Linked DNA regions of Homo sapiens: regions 1 and 3 are each linked to region 2. The links are contacts of gene promoters, found by promoter capture Hi-C in blood cells and fetal thymus (Javierre and others, 2016). All regions are on one chromosome and are shown on one strand. Each heading gives the region's core, a stretch centred on a gene start or on the middle of the fragment in contact. The rest is flanking DNA. Distances are from core to core; before and after follow the strand shown. Region 1 holds the start of RBM11 (RNA binding motif protein 11). Region 2 holds the start of BTG3 (BTG anti-proliferation factor 3). Region 3 holds the start of HSPA13 (heat shock protein family A (Hsp70) member 13).

Region 1 (3,330 bases), core at 63-2,562, 3.4 Mb before region 2:
AAGGTAACTACTGAAGTTACTAGCATTTATATTATATTTGTGAGGGTAGAAAGGCTGTCTCTCCCAAAGTATAAGCTTTAGGAGGTCAGACTTTTATATTTCCCTTTGTTTTCCAAGAATTAAGCATTCAGAAAATACCTATTAAATGAAGTAACTATATTTAGTCCAATCCATTCCTTAAGAAACAGAATCCGAATTCCAAAGAGAAATTACTTGTTCAAAGTAATAAAACTATGTAATGTCAGAGATCAATTAGAAATTAGGATTTCCTAAAATGTGTACCTTTTCATTAGAAAAGATGACTTTTTTTGGTCCATCAACCAGATAAAAGCATGCTTCCTCAATTCAAAATGAAATTTTATCACGATGCCAAACTAAAGGTCAAATAATGTTCTGATCACCTATATGATATTCATGAGATGATCTCAAGGTCCTATGTAGACGTATGGTAGCTTCAGAAAGGAAGCCAAGTTAACAGTTGACAGCTGATTTATCAAAGTATTGAGATTCTAAGTTTTCTTTCTCCTTTCTTGTAATTTTATTGTTCATAAGACTTTTATTAAAAACAAAAATTATCCCCAAGAAAGAACTAAGCCTTTAGCCTGGTACACCATATACAAAGTATAGCCCTGAAACAAAGTACAGCCGTTGGATCCTGACACAAACCCTAGCTGCCATCCTCAAAAATTCTGGCTTAGACACAAAACTGGCTCACTCTCACCAGTATATCCCTTGGTATTTGCTTTCTCAAGTTCCTTTTGGAGTCCACTTAAAACCTCTGCGACCAGTTTCAAAAACTCATCTAGGGAGCACTTTCTAGGAAAATAAACTTTAATTCTAGTTTTCTGTTGTATCCACATCCATGCAAACATCGATTCTTTCAAAAATTATTTATAGTTTAATATCTTCATGATTTGTTCATTTATTCTTTGGACCCAAAGAAATGTATCTCCCCGCATTTGCCTGGGAGCTTCTGCAATGAAGTTACCACAATTTAAATCATCTCTACAGTGACTTTATTTAAAATGTTGATTGAATAAATCCAAAATCAATTAATGTGCCAGAAAAAAAGGAAGCCACCCCACTAGCTAAAGAGTAAAGCCCTTTCTGCATTCATCTTTCTTACTCTCACCCACTCTCCCACCGCCCAGCCCTACGCCAGGCGAGGGAGCAGTGCGGTGGGCGGTACCCCAAGTCCGCTGGGGGCGTGGCCCTGGAGCCATGCCTCGCCCCCAGCGCGCGCTCCCGGCGCCGGCCCCGCCCCCTCACCCAGGCGGCGCCGTAAAGCCGGAGAAGGGGCGGGGTCTCAGCTCCTACTTCATTCTACGGCCGAGACCGGAGGATGTTCCCTGCTCAGGAGGAGGCCGACAGGACCGTGTTTGTTGGGAATTTAGAGGCCCGAGTTCGGGAAGAGATTCTGTACGAGCTGTTCCTTCAGGTACCGTCTCTGGGAAGGGGCGGCGGAGGGGCGGAGCACGTCGGGCCGGAAACATAGCGCGCACCTGGACCACCCGGAGCCCGGCCCCCTTCCGTCCCATCCTGAGCAGGGGTTTTAATTTCGTTTCCTCTTGGCGCACCTGTCTCCAGGTGAGCGGCTGGGGAGTGAAATGAGGGCGCGTTCCCCATCCCCATCCGCGCTGCAGAGTCCTGGGGTTGGGCAGGGACGTGGTTCCTTCAACCCCCGTTTCTGATTAAGGGCTTCCCAGAGGCTGCCTGGGCCTCGGGTGTGCGCGGGCAGAACCGAAAACAGCCTGGTCACTGTTCTCCGTCAAGTAGTAAGCACGCCTGACATCCCCCAAAAGGAGAGGGGTCGCTTTTATAATGTTTCCTTTTACACCTTGCTCCTTCCTTCAAGCCCTTTTATGCGGACAGTATTTTTATTCCAGCATGAAAAGTGAGATTTGAGATGATTTGGCAGCCAACTTACCGTGACTGTGACCAGGTGATTCCCTGGACAAGGCCCTTTAATTCATACCAAGAGGACCTTCGGAAACTTTGAGATCTGGTACCTCTAGGATTAAGCCTGCTGTGTCCTGTATACACGCTCACTTATCGTATTGTCCTATACAGCTAGGTATCACTTGCCAAAAAGATACACTCATTCAGCCATTCCCCTAACCGTGTAATGATCCGGAATTACGGGGCAAATACTGAGGGTGCTGGGAAAACAAATTGACGAGACATCCTTTTATCTTCCTAACAGGGAGAACTTAAAATTACAATGTTTACGATAATCTATAAAAAGAGAAGGGACATAGATAGAAAAGTGGTTCCGCGTGCGAACTCTGAGGTCAGCAGTGTGACTCTGAGCCTGTCAATGAATTCCTCAGTGCTTCAGTTTCCTTATATGTCAAAAGAGAGTAGTAGTATCTGCAGTATAATGTGGCTATCGGAATATGTGGCCTAATGGTAAAATGGCTACAGCTGAGTCTAGCACTCGCTGTTTGCTACCGCTACTACTGCTAATGGTACTGCTGTTATTATTAGTAATAATACTAACATCAAGAGAAATCAATAGTTACTTTCTCCTATCAGAATAAGGGAAAGTTCCGAGGGAGGCAATTACAGAACTAAATTTTCAGGATTGAATGGGTCAAAGGGGTCCTTTATTTGGTTGTGAAAGGACTTACTTTTGTCTCGAAACTTAACTAAAGCAACCCTCTTTTAATTGTAGATACAATTTGGTAGAGAGGGTTCTTTCCAGGAATACAGTTTCCTTTCCTGGACGTAAAACTTTTTTATTATTTGAAAAATATTATTGATTTTAAGACTTTTAGGTTCATCCTTTTAATTCATCTTTTTAAACTTGCCTCCTTTTTTATGAACTCTAATCCATATCTGTTTTTTCATTCAGTATCATTTAAAACTTACTATATTAAGTTAAAAAAAACAACAACAAAAACCGAAAGAAATATAAAGTAAACTTAGAGTTATTTTTCTCCAGAAGACTTCTTTCACTTTGAGCCTCCAAAAAAAGGAGAGTGGAAGACTGGGGTGGGATTGCATTATCCAATAACCATTATTTTTAGTCAATCAGGACTCGATCAATATCAGTTGTGTGGATCCACAAGACTATATATTATCTTCTCATTCTTTATCAGTTCCTTCTTCCACCTAAGCAAAATATAAATTTTATTTAATAGATCAGGTAAGAAGCATAAGTTCTTATTTTTGTCTAGGTATTGAAAGGAATTGCCAAAGTGGAGTTTCTCTTCCACTTTAGACTTCAACACCCAGCAAAACTTGACAACTATCACACTATGTATTTCATTGTGATTTAAAAAATACTGTAAGATAGTGTGATTGTTGCTAAAAGTAAGTCTTCATGTT
Region 2 (3,260 bases), core at 130-2,629:
AGCCCACTCCCACCAGTATTCTAGGAGTACCAAAAGGTGAAAGAGGGAGAGTTACAGTCAGGGCAAGAACCACCAGAGGCAAGCAGGGCCAAGAAGACCTCAGGCGTCTTGAGTAAGTAGGCGTCCTCCACCCACACTCAGAGCAAAAGGCTCCCATTTTAAATATCGCACGGTGACGTCATCCTGGGACCTCGTCACCGCGGCGGCTGCTCCTCAAGTTCTACTTTGTTCCACAAGGCTCCTCTGCTCACGGCTGCGTGGATAAAACCCAAAGGGAATCCAGAATCAAGCTCGGCCTCGCAGGAGTTTATAACTTTTGTACTTTTCCCTCCCTTGTAACGAAAAGCTAATCGCAAACGTTTCTAGGAACACATTTTTCTCCTGATAGACGTTCCCAAGGTGGAGGGCGCGAGAAGACTGGCCCGTGGGGTGAGGAGCCCCGGCCCGACCTCAGCGGCGCCACAAAGCCATGAAGAGGGGAAATAATTTTCCAAGGGGCTAAGAGTTGGACTTTCTGAAGCCATCGAAACCTGCTGCTAGGCTCTCCCGCTGGGGTTTTGAGAGAGGTAGGTGAGGAGGGATCAAACATCTCCACCCGCTCTTGAAAGAACCGCCTTGAGCTGCGCCCAACTTCTGCAATCCCGGTTTTCCCCAAGTTCAAGGGGAAGGGCCCTGGCGCCCAATGCCCAGCCTCCCCGACAACATCCTCGCCAGGGTGCGCCTGCCCCGCGGGTCCGCTGTCCCCGGCGGGCGGCCCTGGGTTCGAGGACCCGGCTTCCCGGAGGCGCGACTCTCCAGCAAACAAGCGGAGCTCCAGAAAAAACACCGACGCGAAGGGGGTGGACAGAGGGTGGGAAGCCGCGGGGTTGTCGCCCACCCGGAGGCGGAATGTAACGCGCTGTGGGAAACGTGGCAGGAGCCCTGAGGCGGCGTCTTTTTCCTCAGGCGCCCGCCGAGGGTCCCGCGGAAAGCCTCGCGGGCCGCCCTCGCGGCCCGCAGCCCCGCTCTGGCGCCGAGCCGGAGCCCATGCAACCTGGTTCCATCCCCTGCCCCTCCCCTGTCCCCGGTGCGCCGCCCGCCAGCGAGCCTTCGACGTGGCCGCAGGGGCGACGGGACCACCCTCCCCCGATACCCACAGCCCCGCCATGTCTGCCTTTCCCCGGCCCGGTCTCCTCACCGCCGCTGCCGCCGCCGCTCTTCGGCCGGAGATTCGGCGGCCCAGACCGTGTCCTGGCCGGGAACTGAGGGCTCCGCCTCAACGGGCCCGCGCTGGGCAACAGGGAGCGCAGCGAGCCTCGTCCGGCGCGTGCGGCTCCCGCGTCGTCGGGCGGCCAAGCGCGCGTTGAGAGGACTGGCGGGCGGACGAGCGCGCACACGAGTGAGCGCAGCCCCAAAGCGGCGCGCAGGGGGCTCGCGGCCCGGAAGAGGGGAGGGGCGATGACCCGGGAAAGGGTTGGCGCGCGCGGGATCGGCTCGCGCGCCTGAGGGGCGGTGCCGGGGGCGGGGCTTCGCCGCGAGGCCACCCCCGAGCCCCGGGCCTAGCCGCACGGGAGGCGACACACCCTCGCCCTACCCTGAGCCTGGCGCAGACCCTCGACCGCGACGGCGCGGTCCGCAGAACCGCGGGCTTCCCTCCCCGGCAAAAAGCGGCGCTGAAGGCCTGTGGGACCCCCGCCCGGCCGCCCTACGTGCGTCAGCGCCTTCGGGGGTCGCGCGGGCTTGGTCCTTTCGGCTGTCTCGGCCTTTTTGTTTCCCCCTCAGGTCTCTCCACGCTGCACTTGACACCCTCAGGGCGGAATGGCGAGTTCTAGACCCAGCTCTCTAGACCCGGGGCTTCATGGGGGACACGGACTCGACGGGAAGGGGAACTTGGCATTTATGGACAGATCCTCATCCTTCTTGCTGTAGTCAATTACACGCACGTTAACCGTGCAGCCGCCCTGCTGTATTTTAGGCGGTTGTTGGCACTCCTAGTTGGGCCCTTCCCTGGCCCCTCACAGCAGGGCCTGCCTCCTGTGGACGCTTGTGTGCTGCCCTGGCACCGGCCACTGTGTTTTGCATAAAGGAGAGGCTCCAAAGATGTTGGCCAAAGGAATGAAGCCTTGAGAGTCCAGGCTTTCTATTTCTGAGACACTCTACTCAAGGACTTCCCAGATGCAAAGCTTCATCTTTGAGCAAATACAAATATGGAGAGGGAACATTAACTTTCTGAAGAAAAGAAGGAACATCTTTTCAACCTTTTATATTGAGTTAACACCATGGTCTTAGTTTTGTGAAAGCACTTTAATACATCCAACTAGCGGGAGGAATACAAGATATTCCTACCTTTTTATTATTATTATTAAAAGAGGGCTAAACCATGTTGTAAACTACTTAAGAACTGAATGTTCAAGTTGTACAGTATATTGGCCAGATTCCTTACTGCCCACTAGGCTTGGGAGCATGTTTTCAGCTCAGTTTTATGAATGTTTTAAATTTGTATTACTGATCTTTGTTATAGCCAATTAGCAATTCAAAATGGTAATTTTTTTAGCAGTAATAAATATACCATCCCCCAAACAGTACAATAAACTTTATTTGTAAAAAAAAAAAATTATACTCTTCTAGGACTTAGTCTACTTACTGGTACATTTAAAGAGGATATTTACACCTTGGAGTCTTCTAGGAGGTGTGAAGGTGTTTTTATTTTAAAATCATAACAATCTGATGAGGTTATTTTTACAGATAAAGGCCTTTAATTCTGCAGTTTCATAAAATAGCTAGGTAACCACCCACATTACTCAAAATTTGTCCAGAAATTTCTATAGTTTAGGATTAGTATTTTGTGTAGTATTTATAAATCTGTGGTCCACATTTTCCAGTCTTAGAGCAGTACCATATTCAAAAAATACAGGCAAGAACCTGAAACCCAATTTCAAAATGACTTTTAAAAAATTCTCAGGCTGGGCACTGTAGCTCATGCCTGTAATCCAGTACTTTGGGAGGTCAAGGAGAGAGGATCATTTGACTCCAGGAGTTCAAGACCAACCTGGCCAACATCATGAAACCCAATCTCTACAAAAAATACACAAATTAGCCAGGTGTGGTTGCATGCAGCTGTAGTCTCAGATACTCTGAAGGCTGGGGTGAGAGGATCACCTGAGCCCAGGAAATTGAGGCTGCAGTGAGCTATGATAACATCATGGCACTCCAGCCTGGGTGACAGAGCAAGACTCTGTCTAAAAAAAGAAAAAAAAATTCTCATAGCTGAACACTGTGAA
Region 3 (3,393 bases), core at 894-3,393, 3.2 Mb before region 2:
GGTTGCAGTGAGCCAAGATCATGCCATTGCATTCCAGCCTGAGAGACAGAATGAGACTGTCTCAAAAAAAAAAACAAAAACTAATTCATTTAGAATTTCACTTCATTTAGAATTTCACTTCATAACTTCCAAGAAAAACTCCACATGGAAAAAAGCTTTAAATGTTTAAAAGAAAAAAAAAGCAGCGAAATCCAAACCAACAAATACATAAACGTATTAAGAGGGAAAAAAAAGTAGCAGTGGATAGGATGGGATAGGCTACAGTAAACATGATAAGAGTCTAAAATCAAAAATTTAAAACTTTGACATCCAGCTCAAAAACATCAGTGAAAAAAAAAAGGTAAGGAAAAGATAACAAAAACATATAATGAAGGTCTTTTATAGCTCACTAAGGAAAAGAAAAACACACCAAAACAAAAAAGGACAAAGAAAAATGGACCATAAAAGAAAATTAAAATATCAATAAAATTCTAAAAATTCTGATCTCACTAAAAAAAATCAAAATAAATAAAAATTAATACAGGATACTATTTTTCACTTATCTGACTGTTAAAGATTAAAAAAAATAACTAGCGAAGATACAGCCACTCTAAAAAATTATGGTTAAGAGCATATAACCTTTCTGGTGAGCAAACCAGAAAAATAAATCAAAAGCCTTAAAAACGTACACATTTGACCTATCAATTAGACTTCTAGCATTCAAGTTAGGAAACTTTCAGAGAAGTGTACAAAGATAAGTAAGGATATTACCGGAATCTCCAACATTAGTGAAAAACCACAAAAAAGTACACTGATAGAGACTAGTCTAATTAATAATGGAATAGTCATTCCACAAAATCATTAAAGATAATGACATGATCCTATTAATTATCCATGACATATTAAATAGCAAAAAATAGCACACCTGGTATGTTCTCTTTATATGTATATAAATATGTACACATACACACACAGAATATCTATCTATGGTACACAGGGCTTCATCAACCTTCCTGCTACCTTGAAAGAGCTAAGCAAGACATGCTGAGGATGGGACAGCAAGAAAATGGCAAGGCCTTAAGTACCTGTTAGCATTATGGAGTCAGTGATTAACTGATCCTATAGCTGCTGTGGAATTTCTGGTTATGTGAGATAACAGAACTTTCATGTATTAATAGATAAAACTAGACGAGATAGAATGTTTTGTGACATGAAGCCAAAGCATTAACTAAAAGAGTACACTAAAATTAATATAGATTTTAGATTAATCACTTACCTTAAATGGGTATCTGCCAATTTCAGCCTCCAACTCTTCTGCGGTAAAAATCTTGCCTATGAATCTTTTGGCATCATATATTGTGTTTTGAGGATTTGAATCTGCCAGCTCTACGCTTTCATATCCCACATATACATCATTGTCAGTAAAAGACACCATGCTGGGTATGCTGATATGCCCATTTTCATCTGGAATCACCTTTACTTTTCCTGTGCCAGGAAAAAACACCCCAACAGAACAATAGGTGGTGCCAAGATCAATACCAATCACTTTAGGAGTAGGCAATGGTAAATACTGTTGTGCCAAATAGCCGGCCAACAGGAGAGTCAAAACAGCCGATCCTGAAATAAAGGAAAATTAAAAGATGTATTTTATCAAACTAGTACAATGTACTAAATTACTGTAGCAAAGTCCCTTTAATATCACTCGTTGAAACAAGGCTAAAAAAGACAAATTTCAAAATTTTTTATAGGACTGCTGATAGCACTCCTCTCAGACAGCAAGTTTTTCAAAATGTAAACTGGTTATAATAAAATTTAAAATGAAGTAAACACAAACAACAAAAAACCCTATAACTGTATGTTTGTGTCATTCTCTAATAAATGTAATAAAATGTAAAAATATTTCAATAATATTTGTGCAGATGCTGACAAGAAACAACATTTATCTGGAGCAAAAGCCAGATATAATCTAATATTCTTGATCAATTGATATTTAGATTTTACAGCTTTATAAAAAGCTTCGATTATCTTTTTTTAAAAGCTCCATTATTAAAATTCTCACAAGAAAAACTTTATTATTTTATAAGTCTAAAATTCTCTCCTCGTATCTCACCTCCTTTTCCCTTTCAAAAGGATGAAATGAATAAATGGGATAAAATGATTTTGAAAGTTCCTTAGATATGAAACTGTCACTTCAAAACAGAACACAGTTAACTTTTTATGTATTTAAGTATGAACTAGGGACTTCCTTCTTGCAGTGGTAATATTTAGGGGAGAAGAAGCATAAAGGTGGGCAACCCTGACGGCAACATCTATGAAAGCTTCTTGAAGACAAGTTTCGTTCACTGTTGTATCCCCCAGACCAGGAATAGCAGATGCCCAACAAATACTAATTTAAAAAAAAAAGAAAAAAGAGTAGGAACAAATGCCACGCAGATTGTAAACATAAGCGAAGAAAGATGCCCCTTTAGTTTTTAATGAATCTCGTATTTGGTATCAGGAGGCTGTGTTATACACCTGTGTCCGCTCATATTACATATGACCCAAAACATGAATTTTCAGGGCTCTGTGTTACTAATTGTTAGCTCATCCTCATCAACACATAACTCAAAGAAATAAAACCAAGTGCGAATCCCACTTTCCACTTCCAGCTACAGGCAACATTTCAGAAGCATTTCATCACCTTGGAGACGCGGGGTGGGTGTGTGTGTGGGTGGGGGATAGGTAATTCCAAACCCGATGTGATGGAAAAAGCCTCCAAATTCAGCATCCCTGAGCCGACAGATCCGGATGTAGCTCCTCCCCCTTCCTCCACAAAGGGGTCCTGGAGGTGCACGTTCTCGCAGCCTTCCATAGCTTGCCCCAATTCAACAGGCAATTCAAAAACCTAGGTGCTGTTGAAAGGAACGCCTCCCTAAGCCTGATGTCCCTGGGATGGACACAGCTGGTCGCCGTCTATCCTACCTTGGCCTGCAGGGGCCGGGGCCCTCCTAGAGGCGTCCCCGCCCCCATCCACTCCGAACAGCCGAAAACCGTCTCTAAGTCACCTTTCTGACTCCCCTTCCGCTGCTCCAGCTAGATCCAGGAGGTGAGTCAACCACCCCTGCCCACTCTGGCATCCTCAGATCGCCTCTACGCCCGCAAGAGCAACAAGGACCCCCGGGAACCCACCTAAGATCGTCATCTCTCTGGCCATCACAGTCCCGCCGAACAGGCTTGTGATGACTGTACCAGACGTGAGGCACCGCCCCCACTCCTCCCGGCAGTCCCGCAGCCCCCTGGGAAATGTAGTCCGCTTGCTCTGAGGCAATCGGAGAAGCTATCGCTCTGACCAAAGCAAGGACTTCATCTACCGTGAGGGCGCGGGGCAAAGAGCCTCCATTCAACCGCTGCCAGTGACGACTGAGTCCCCCTTCC

The links. The method cuts DNA at HindIII sites, captures the fragments that hold promoters and counts their contacts. A CHiCAGO score of 5 or more calls a contact.
Region 1: the fragment with the promoter of RBM11 here is called in contact with the fragment with the promoter of BTG3 in region 2 in 1 of 17 cell types (non-activated CD4 T cells); the score reaches 5.3 in non-activated CD4 T cells.
Region 3: a fragment that was not itself captured here is called in contact with the fragment with the promoter of BTG3 in region 2 in 1 of 17 cell types (non-activated CD4 T cells); the score reaches 5.9 in non-activated CD4 T cells.

The regions. Positions count from the first base shown.
Region 1 is chr21:14,214,845-14,218,174 of GRCh38, forward strand. It overlaps RBM11 (RNA binding motif protein 11), which reads left to right and starts at 1,313. Exons shown (of 5, transcript NM_144770.5): 1 at 1,313-1,438. The coding sequence starts at 1,343. RefSeq lists a silencer at 1,130-1,359. The HindIII fragment of the contact is 12,542 bases long and covers 74-3,330 here.
Region 2 is chr21:17,611,522-17,614,781 of GRCh38, forward strand. BTG3 (BTG anti-proliferation factor 3) reads right to left here and starts at 1,380. Exons shown (of 5, transcript NM_006806.5): 1 at 1,178-1,380. It overlaps BTG3-AS1 (BTG3 antisense RNA 1), which reads left to right and starts at 165. Exons shown (of 1, transcript NR_149073.1): 1 at 165-2,593. It also overlaps a transcript of CXADR not described here. The HindIII fragment of the contact is 7,083 bases long and covers 1-2,160 here.
Region 3 is chr21:14,379,948-14,383,340 of GRCh38, forward strand. It overlaps HSPA13 (heat shock protein family A (Hsp70) member 13), which reads right to left and starts at 3,199. Exons shown (of 5, transcript NM_006948.5): 1 at 3,148-3,199; 2 at 1,256-1,596. The coding sequence starts at 3,172. LOC105369304 (a long non-coding RNA gene) reads left to right here and starts at 2,819. Exons shown (of 2, transcript XR_007067924.1): 1 at 2,819-3,393. RefSeq lists an enhancer at 2,906-3,215. The HindIII fragment of the contact is 303 bases long and covers 1,993-2,295 here.